Linked DNA regions of Homo sapiens: region 2 is linked to region 1. The links are contacts of gene promoters, found by promoter capture Hi-C in blood cells and fetal thymus (Javierre and others, 2016). All regions are on one chromosome and are shown on one strand. Each heading gives the region's core, a stretch centred on a gene start or on the middle of the fragment in contact. The rest is flanking DNA. Distances are from core to core; before and after follow the strand shown. Region 1 holds the start of ZNF227 (zinc finger protein 227). Region 2 overlaps ZNF264 (zinc finger protein 264).

Region 1 (5,080 bases), core at 878-3,377:
CGCCGGTAATCCCAGCACTTTGGGAGGCCGAGGTGGGCGGATTACCTGAGGTCAAGAGTTCAAGATTAGCCTGGGTAACACGGTGAAACCCCGTCTCTACTAAAAATACAAAAATTAGCTGGGAGTGATGGCGCACACCTGTAACCCAGTTACTCGGGAGCTTGATGCAGGAGAATCACTTGAACCTGGGAGGTGGAGGTTGCAGTGAGCTGAGATCACGCCACTGCACTCCAGCCTGGGCAACAAGAGTGAATCTCCATCTCACAAAAAAAAAGAAAAAAAAAGAAAAAAGAAAATTTTCATAATAAGAAAAAAACTACTACACAGAATACCAAACCTATTTTGAGAAACATCCATAGCATATACTAAAGGGAAACACATTAAAGTGTTAGCAGTTTTATTATAAGTAATTTAAGTTTTCTGAATATAACATCACTGTCCAATAGAAATATACTGAGACACATAAATAATTTTAAATTTTCTAGCAGTAACATATAAAAAAGGCAAAAAAACAAAAACAAAAATAGGTGAAGTTAATTTCAACAACATAATTTAAGCCAATGTATCCAAAATATTACCATTTTGACATATAATACAAAAAATTATCAATGAGCCATCTTACATTTTTTGTACAAAGTTTTTGAAATCCAGTGTGTATTTAACACTTACAGCACATCTCAATTTGGACTAGACACATTTCAAGTGCTCCTAGGGCACACATGGCTTATAGCTACTGGATTGGATAGTGCATCTCTATAATGAGCATTCATTACTTCTATAACTAGAATATGACATATTTTGACATGGAATGAAATTAAGTAAGTGAGATGTTGCAGGATTTTTCTAAAAAATTCAAAATTCATCAGTGCAGTTTTTGAGGTCTTCCACAGTAAAATCCATACCTACATTCCCAAGGCTGATTTCCAACGACTCACCGGTAGCCATATGGATTACTATTTAAGATAACTGAAGACGACTGTATCATTGAGATTAAGACCACAGACTCAGAAAAAGGAATAGAAAATAAACAACAACAAAAACCAAAGAAACAAAAACAAACAAAAAAGATCACACAGTCTGAAAAGGAATGCTTGGGTTCAATCCCAAATCCACCTCTTACTATCAGTTGAATAACTTCGGGAAAGTATTTAATAACATAAACTCTGCCTAATTTCCTCATAACAAAATAACAAGACCTACTTCATCAATAGCTATGGTCCACAGACGAATGCCTTAAAATCAAAGTGGTAAGATGTTATTGGTAATACTCATTTCCAAGTAGTTTTCCTACCCACTCTCACATTTATTCAACAAATATTTCATCATTTTTCAGTAGTAACTTACTGAGTGACGGAAACTTGATTAACTGAAAGGACAGAAAATGGAACAACAAAGTGCGTTCAAGAGCAGGTACCTGGGGCTATGCTGGGAGAAGCCAAGAAGTCCCTCCTTCCTCCTCTTTGCAAATTCGGAGGCGGTGAATAAAAGGATGCTGTCAGCACGATGGAGTCTCTATCCCGGATAAACGGCGGTAAACATCCCCACGCATTGGAGCCCGATGACTCAATCCTTCTTAAAAAAAAAAAAGATCTGTAAAAGTTCGGGAAGAGCTCGGTCTCCTGAAGGATACGACAGAAAGGCCATGGCATAAAGCCCTGACTTTTCTTCTCTCTTCACTGGAGCTTCCAGTAAAAAGGGCGCTTGTGAGGGAATCACTGTATCAATAGCAGGAGCCAACCCAGTATCAGGTGCCACCACTGTTCTAAGGTTTGACCCGTATTATCTTGTTTAATTCTAATTACAACCCTACACAGTAACGACTATCTTTATTGCTATTTTAAAGATGAGGAAACAGGAGCGCGGATCATAGGTAACTCGCTGTTTATTATACCCACAGAACTAGCGGCGCTGCTTGCCAAGTGCGGGAGGAGAGCAAACTTCCCGCCCTCGGCCTCTCGGCCTCCGCCGCGGCCGCGACCTCTCCATCCCAAGACTGATGGCTGGGGAGCGCCTATTCCCAAGCACAGGCTGAAAAGGTTCAAGAGGGGTCGTGGGGGTGCAGGGCTGACTCACCTCCCGGACCCAAAAGATGGTGGCGGCCTCGCTTTCCGGGGCGGAAGTGGCTCTGCCTGCCCAGAGCTCCTGAACTACCCTTCCCAGAAGGCCCGCGCTCCTGCGGCCCAATTGTTTCCGGACAGAGTTCTGGAATACGTTTCCCAGAACTTCCAGAAGGAAAAACCATCCAGGTGCCGCCCTCTTCGCGCTTGAAAAAAAAAAAAACAAAAAAAAAAACGGAGCGAGCGAGTGAGAGAGGGTTACGGAGAGTGTGACAAAATTCTCGGAGCTCCCGGACTACAACATCCAGAATCCTCTTCACGGCTTATTGCTGTTTAGCCAGGCTGAAGCAGTTCTCTGATGTCAGTGGAATTTAGGTTTTTCTTATTAACAAAAAGTAACAGCAAATATGTGAAGAATTGGAGCCCTAAAATAAAAAAAGACTCCCAGCACTTTGGGAGGCCGAGGCGGGCGGATCACGAGGTCAGGAGTTCCAGACCAGCTTGGCCAATATGATGAAGCCCCGTCTCTACTAAAAATATAAAAATTAGCCGGGCGTGGTGGCGCGCGCCTGTAGTCCCAGCTACTTGGGAGGCTGAGGCATAAGAATCGCTTGAACCCTGGAGGGTGCAGTGAGCCAAGATCGTGCCACTGCACTCCAGCCTGGGCGACAGAGTGAGACTCTGTCTCAAAAAAAAAAAAAAGAAAAAAAAAACTATTATAAGAAACAGATCACGTGATCCTGTACTAATAGAATTATACCCACCACTTCCAAAAAAAAAAAAAAAAAGGGCAGAGGAAACCCTTTAAGTTTTTACATTTAACAGGATCGACTAATAGAAAAACTACTCTTTAGATACTAAAAGAATGAAAGAGCAATCAAAAAATGCAACGAAGGCAGAATATATTATGGATTTCCACTTTTCTTAATAGCACAGTCATATAATTCAGAACAACTTGCTTACTGAGGATAGCTAGACATAGAAAACACAAGCTTTGGCATATGGTAGATCAACTCCACAAAGCAACTAGGGCCTCTGTAATCATTCCTCAAGGAGTTTCTGAATTTGAAAGATGAACAAATTTATTACTTCAGTGTTTAAACCTTGATCTTTATTTGCTTAAATGTATAATGGAATTGATGTTTCCAAGAATTGAGGGTTGAAAGAAGAGAGCAATACCTAAAAATATCCACATATCTACTACAGTACATGTTTGCAGTTCTCATTTACTAAATATATATTCTTTATTCTGTTATATACAACTATCTCTTATAAAGAACCAAGTATGTGCCAGGAACTAGTTCAAACTATTCAGACTATGGGACCCTCACTACATTTTCACAACTTTTTTCTTTTTTTTTTTGTTCTGTTTTGTTGTTGTTGTTGTTGTTGTTGTTGTTAGACAGAGTTTGGCTCTTTTGCCCAGGCTGGAGTGAAGTGGCATGACCTCGGCTCATTGCAACCTCCGCCCTCACACAAGGTTCAAGCAAGTCTCCTGCCTCAGCCTCCCAAGTCGCTGGGGTTATAGGCACCCCCCTCCCCACCACGCCCAGCTAATTTTTGTATTTTTAGTAGAGACGGGGTTTTGCCATCTTGGCCAGGCTAGTCTTGAATTCCTGACCTCAGGTGATCCACCCGCCCCGGCCTCCCAAAGTGCTAGGATTACAGGCATGAGCCACCACACTTAGCCCATTTTCACAACTTTTTTAAAACAAATAATGTCCTCTAGTTTACTCTTTGGGATCCAGAGGCAGAGAGAGGTTAAGTATATCTCCTAAGATGGAAATTTGATTATTTTCACCTGCATGTCTATCCAGTGCCCTTAAGAGAAGGTTCAAATGCTTTAACAAGTCGCACAAACAGGAATTTTCCAGATGCTGTTTCTCTCTTGGAATCCACTTTCCACTCTACATGTCCAGCCATAGTGGATTACTTGTACTCCTACAAAAAGCCTCTAATTCTTTGTATTTGGTGTTCCTTCTGTCATAACCTGCTACTCTTTTCCCTCCTGGGTGACGGTCTTCATCCATAGCTTAAATATTCCCTGCTCTAATAAGACTTACTGTGGGTTCTTGCCTTGTAGACTAATAAAAGTAGTGTGTAGTAGCTAATATTACAGCCTTAGTATAAAGCTATCTAGATTAAAATACTAGTGCTTCCATTTCTTCTGTCCCCTTTTTCTTCATTTGTAAAATGGAGACTATAATAGGGTTGATATCAAGTACAAATGAATAAATACATGTAAAACACTGGAAATTCTGCCTGATTCATGACTACCCTATAAAAAGTTAGCAAATGTTAACCTCAGGGGATAAACACAGGACACATAAATTATGGATGGAAGGTTTCTACAAAAATTTGCTTTGATCACTAAAATATTATCAATAACCATGCATCAACTTTTGATTACTGGGAAAAAAACTAGAAGACTATGCAAATGCATCCCACCAAAAGTGAGATAAAGAGTCACTAATATTGACATTATTTCCTTTTATTTTTTCCTAAATCCATTTTGGGAATTCTGAATACAATCTAAATGATCTGCAGGTTTCCATTTCAAGATACTGGGCAGCTCCACAAACCACAAACACTAAACCCCTCCTTACCAGTCTTGTGCTGGGTGCTAAGCACATGGTAAAGAATGGGACATAGTTCCTGCAACAAAGTAACATGCAGCCTAAGGGAGAAACAGATCAGATCTAAAAGACCCTGAGTAGGCCGGACTCTGTGGCTCACGCCTGTAATCCCAGCACTTTGGGAGGCCGAGGTGGGCAGATCACGAGGTCAGGAAATCGAAACCATCCTGGCTAACACGGTGAAACCCCGTCTCTACTAAAAATACAAAAAATTAGCCGGGTGTGGTGATGGGCGCCTGTAGTCCCAGCTACTCAGGAGGCTGAGGCAGGAGAATGGCGTGAACCCGGGAGGTGGAGCTTGCAGTGAGCCGAGATCGCGCCACTGCACTCCAGCCTGGGCGACAGAGCGAGACTCCGTCTCAAAAATAAATAAATAAAAATGAATAA
Region 2 (5,516 bases), core at 2,257-4,756, about 13 Mb before region 1:
GTACCACCTATACGCACAGCTTCATGGTAAACATTCTGTGAGGGAACCAAAAATTGCAATAAAGGCTGGGTGTGGTGGCTCATGCCTGTAATGCCAGCACTTCGGGAGGCCGAGGCGGGTGGATCACCTGAGGTCAGGAGTGTGAGACCAGCCTGGCCAACATGGTGAAACCCCGTGTCTACAAAAAATACAAAAATTAGCCGGGCATGGTGGCCCATGCCTGTAATCCCAGCTACTTGGGAGGCTGAGGCAGGAGAATTGCTTGAACATGGGGGGATGGAGGTTGCAGTGAACTGAGATCGCACCACTGCACTTCAGTCTGGGTGGCAGAGTATGAGACTCTGTGTCTCAAACAACAACAACAAAATTGCAATAAAAATAACTTTGCTGTGTGTGGCCATTCACCAAAACACACACATATATGGAGGGTCTACTAAAAAAAAAGGTGGAATGAACAGAATGGGGCAGTGCCTGGATGTGGGGACGAGGTAAGAGAAAAAGAGGTGGTTGCAATGTGGCTTGGGCAACAAGATTCAAATTTGGGAAATTCACCCTGATCTTTAGGCACTTCAAACACTCCTAAAGCCAGATGCATGTCTTACCGCTTCCCTACTCAGTTTTCCCACTCCCCTGTCCTCAAACCCAGACACTGTATCTTCTACATAGTTACAACAGATATTTGCACCCATTAAAGAGTGGCTTTGGTTTACCTTCCTCAAGTTGAAGAAACAGTCAAGATGTATTGTCGAATGAGAGTAACAGATTATAGCATTGTTGAATCAACTTTAGTAAAAATAGTGACCAGAAAACAAACCCCCCAACATGAGAAGCAATAAAGTGGTTAAAGACATGAATTCTGAAGCCAGTCTACGTGGCCTCCCATTCCTAAATCCAAACTTCATAACTGTGTAACCTTGGGCAAATTCTTAACCTGAGCCTATCTATATTCTGCTCTGCAAAATGAAGGAAACAACATTACCTACCACACACAGATGCTGTAAATGTTGAAAGAGCTGATGCATGTAAAACATTCACAACAATGTCTCATACATAGCCACATGACATTCACCTGCTCTCATTATAATTATGGGTGCATCCCCACGGCCAGGGCCATGGCCACATAGACACGCATACAGGCTCAGTGTTTACAAATGCAGAGAAAGTGCAGAAGATGCCCAGTGGGCCACAGACGTGAGAAACATCCAGTCTGGAGACATAGATTTGGGAAATTCTGTAGATCATTGAAAGTAAATGTCTTCAGCAGGAACCATCTCATTCACAGAGCTCATGGCAAGTGAAAAAGCAATGGCCAATGATGGATTCTGGGAAACAAAAATGTTTAAGAGTTGGAAGGAAGACACAGACCCTCTGGAGGAGAAAGACAGCAACTTTCAAGAACCAAGAAAGAAGTTTTGGTTCAGAGTGGTGGTCAGCAGCACAAAGTTCTAACAAGGAAGTAAGAGGACAAATGATGGAAGCCCTCCTGTAGCTGTCCGTGGAGTGAGGGAAATGAGAAGGGGCGAGGACGGGTAGTGTGCAGAACAACTACACAGACCATGTCTGTGGGAGACAGAAGAAATGGGCAGAGACTGATGGACAAGCGGGGTGAAATCCATTTGGGGATGAGGATAGAGACTTGAATACAGATACAGATTATGGGGGAAAAATCTGGTTATCAGAGACAAGTTAAAGACTAGGCGAGGAAGTATGACAGAGAGCCTAAAAAAGACTGGGCAGGAGGTAGGAAAATGTGTCCAATAACAAAAGGCAAGAGTGATCCTGGAAGAGAGGTGACTCCTTCCTGAGGATACAACAAGGCATAGAGAGCTAGAGAATTTTTTTTTTTTTTGAGATGGAGTCTCGCTCTGTTGCCCAGGCTGGAGTGCAGTGGCACGATCTCAGCTCAGTGCAGAGAGCTAGGGAATTTTACAAACATTCCATGGAGAACATGACTCTGAAAAATCTGCAGATCACTCTCAGTTGTAAGATCTGTTCATAGAAATATTGGTGTAGCACAACTCAGAAGACTGTGGGCTTTCTATTCCCCCAGATAGTTTAACATTTCTATTCAAATGTCAAGACAAACCACCAGAGAACCATGACTTTGGAATATAGTTGTCTATTCTCTGAGAGTCTTTCTTTGGCGTTAAAAAATAAGCAAAGAAACAGAAGGTGTACAAAAGAACCCACCCAATGGAAATTAAACAACTGGAAAATACAAAACCAAAATGAAAACTCACTGCACAAACTCAACAGATTAGGTATGACAAAGAAAACAATCAGTGAGGACCATGGAAGGTCAATAAAAATTAATCAATATTAACAAGACAGAAAATAGACTGGAAAAAGAAAAAAGATGAGAGCCTGAAGGACCCATGGGAGTGTAAAACAAGATCTGCCACTCATGTTATTGAAGTCCCTAAAAAAGACAAGACTGGGGGGTGAAAAAATATTTGAAGAAATAATAGTTGAAAGTTCCCCAAATTTTGCAAAAGGCATAATCCTACAGATCAAAAAGCTGGGCAAGCACCAGGGAGCGCCAAATAGAATACACCCAAAAACTTCCATGCCACGCACATCACAGCCAAACTTCTGAACACTAGAGACAATGAAAAACACTTTGAATGAAGCTTGACAGAACTGATGCATTGTAAAATAGGGAATGATTATTTGAATGCTAGTAGGTTTCTTATATTAAACAATAATGTACAGAACAGAGAGATACATCTCTGAAGTCTAAAAGAAAACAACTGCCAACTCTGAATCTTATATTCCACAAAAATATTCTTTGGGAATGAAGGAAACATAAAGACATCTTTAGAGGAAGGAAAACAAAGAACATTTGTTACTCTAGAAGAAAGGCTACAGTAAAGTTCAGTGTATAACTGAAAAGAAATGTTAATAGAAGGTTTGGGATTTCAAGAAAGAAGAATGAACAATGGAATGGGTAAAGAGGTCGACAGGCCAAGGTTGGCGGATCACAAGGTCAGGAGTTTGAGACCAGCCTGAGCAACATGGTGAAACCCCGTCTCTACTAAAAATACAAAATTAGCTGGGTGTGGCGGCGCACACCTGTAATCCCAGCTACTCAGGAGGCTGAGGCAGGAGAATCGCTTGAACCCAGGAGGCGGAGGTTGCAGTGAGCCAAGATCGTGCCACTGCACTCCAGCCTGGGTGACAGAGTGAGACTCTGTCTCTTTAAAAAAAAAAAAAAAAAAAAAAGGTCAAGAGACAATGTTTCTCATGACGTTTTGTAAAATACGTGTGAGAGATAAAGTAAAAATTACATCTTGTGGCCGGGTGCAGTGGCTCACACCTGTAACCCCAGCACTTTGGGGGGCCGAGGCGGGTGGATCATGAGGTCAAGAGTTCAAGACCAACCTGGCCAAGATGGTGAAACCCCGTCTCTACTAAAAATACAAAAATTAGCCAGGCGTGGTGGCGGGCGCCTGTAATCCATTACTAGGGAAGCTGAGGCAGTTAATTGCTTGAACCCGGGAGGCAGAGGTTGCAGAGAGCCGAGATCGCATCACAGCACTCCAGCGTGGGTGACAGAGTGAGACTTGGTCTCAAAAAAAAGGAAAAGAAAAATTACATCTTGCAACATAGCGCTCAATTTTTGAAGAGGAATTACTATTACTTAAGATAGTTACATTAGTAGGTAAGCTAAAGGAACCTAATGGAAGTAAAGTGCTAAATTGCTGATAACTTATTAAACTGTCATAAGTTATATATTTACACTGTAATAGTAGAACAATCACTAAAAAATGCAGATATATACAGACAGTCCCTGACTTAGGATGGTTCGACTTACTACTTGACTTTACAATGGTGCGAATGCGACATGCATTCAGTAGAAACCACACTTGAATTTTTATTTAAAATTCTTTGCAGTAACTTTATTATAAAGTAGGCCTTGTGTTAGATGATTTTGCCCAACTGCAGGCTAATGTAAATTTTCTGAGCATTCTGAAGGCAAGATCGGCTATGATGTTCAGCAGGGTAGGTGTATTAAATGCATATTTGACATAGTATTTTCAACTTGCAATGGGTTTATTGTGACATAACCCCATCATAAGTCAAGGAGGATCTATACTAAAAAACACTACATATGTATCAAATCAAATTATTAAAAAAAAAAAAGGTGAAGTAACCTATAGGAAGACTAGTAAACAACCCCAAATAACAGAGGAACAATAAAAAAGAACACAAAAATCATTTAAGGGCACACTTAAGCCCTAAAATATCAATAATTATTTTAATGTAAATCATTTCAACATACCAATTAAGAGAGACATATGCAGAATGAATAAAAAAAGCATGGCCTGAGTATATGCTGTTCAAAGAAACTGACTTCATAAGTAATGATACAGGTAAGCTTTAAAATAAAATGAAGAAATATTAACCATGCAAACATTAATCAAAATATGCAGGAGTCACTATGAGAACATCAGGTAAAGTATTGACAAGACTATTAAAAGGCAAAAAAATGACATCACATAATGACAGAAGAGTCAATTCACCACAAAGACTTGGCAAACCTACATGTATATGTACCAAACAATACAGCTTTGAACTTTGCAAACAAAAAGTGATAGAACTTGAAAGAGCAACACACTTCCACAATCATGTTCAGGACTTTTTGTTGTTGTTGTTGAGACAGAGTCTCGCTCTGTTGCCCAGGCTGGAGTGCAGTGGTGAGATCTCAGCTCACTGCAACCTCTGCCTCCCACGTTCAACTGATCCTCCTGCCTCAGCCCCCCAGCAGCTGGGATTACAGGCACACGCCACCATGCCTGGCTAATTTTTGTATTTTTAGTAGACAGGGTTTTGCCATGTTGGCCAGGCTGGTCTCGAACTCCTGGCCTCAGGTGATCCACCTGCCTTAGTGGTCTCAAAGTGCTAGGATTACAGGCGTGAGCCACTGCACCCGGCCTATGTTCAGGACTTCAACACCCCTCTCAGCAACTGACAGAAATGCTGGACAGAAAATCAGCAAGGACATAGCTGACTTGAATAACAATGAGCAGGATCATAGAGACATTTATAGAAACTCCACCCAGTAACAGCAGAACACCCATTCTTTTCAAGCAGCTATACGAAACAAGATAGACCCTATCCTGGGTCATAAAAAAATGTTAACACATTTAAACAGTCAGATCAAACATGGAACAAATTAGAAATCAGTAACAAATATGCCAAACACCAGAAAATTAAGCATACTATTAAATAATTCATGGCTAAGAGAGAATGTCTCAAAAAATAAAAACTATTAGAATTAAAATGTAATGAAAACATTAAAACTTGTGGGATCAAACCAATAGTGATATGAGGTAAATTTATACAATGTAATGCTTACATTAAAAAAGCAAAAAAATCTCAAATCAATAATCTAAAACCCCACCTTGAAAAGTTAGAAAGAGCCAAATACAACCAAAGCAAGTGGAATATAATACCGATCAGAGCAGAAATCAAAGAAATCAAGAATAGAGACAAATCATTAATATAAAGTGCTA

The links. The method cuts DNA at HindIII sites, captures the fragments that hold promoters and counts their contacts. A CHiCAGO score of 5 or more calls a contact.
Region 2: a fragment that was not itself captured here is called in contact with the fragment with the promoter of ZNF227 in region 1 in 1 of 17 cell types (total CD4 T cells); the score reaches 7.6 in total CD4 T cells.

Annotation. Positions count from the first base shown.
Region 1 is chr19:44,209,579-44,214,658 of GRCh38, reverse strand. ZNF227 (zinc finger protein 227) reads right to left here and starts at 2,127. Exons shown (of 6, transcript NM_182490.3): 1 at 2,074-2,127; 2 at 1,415-1,569. The HindIII fragment of the contact is 5,683 bases long and covers 1-3,051 here.
Region 2 is chr19:57,215,491-57,221,006 of GRCh38, reverse strand. It overlaps ZNF264 (zinc finger protein 264), which reads right to left. Exons shown (of 4, transcript NM_003417.5): 4 at 1-5,516. Among named protein-coding and RNA genes, the nearest start is that of AURKC, 13 kb to the left of the region's middle. The HindIII fragment of the contact is 1,748 bases long and covers 2,633-4,380 here.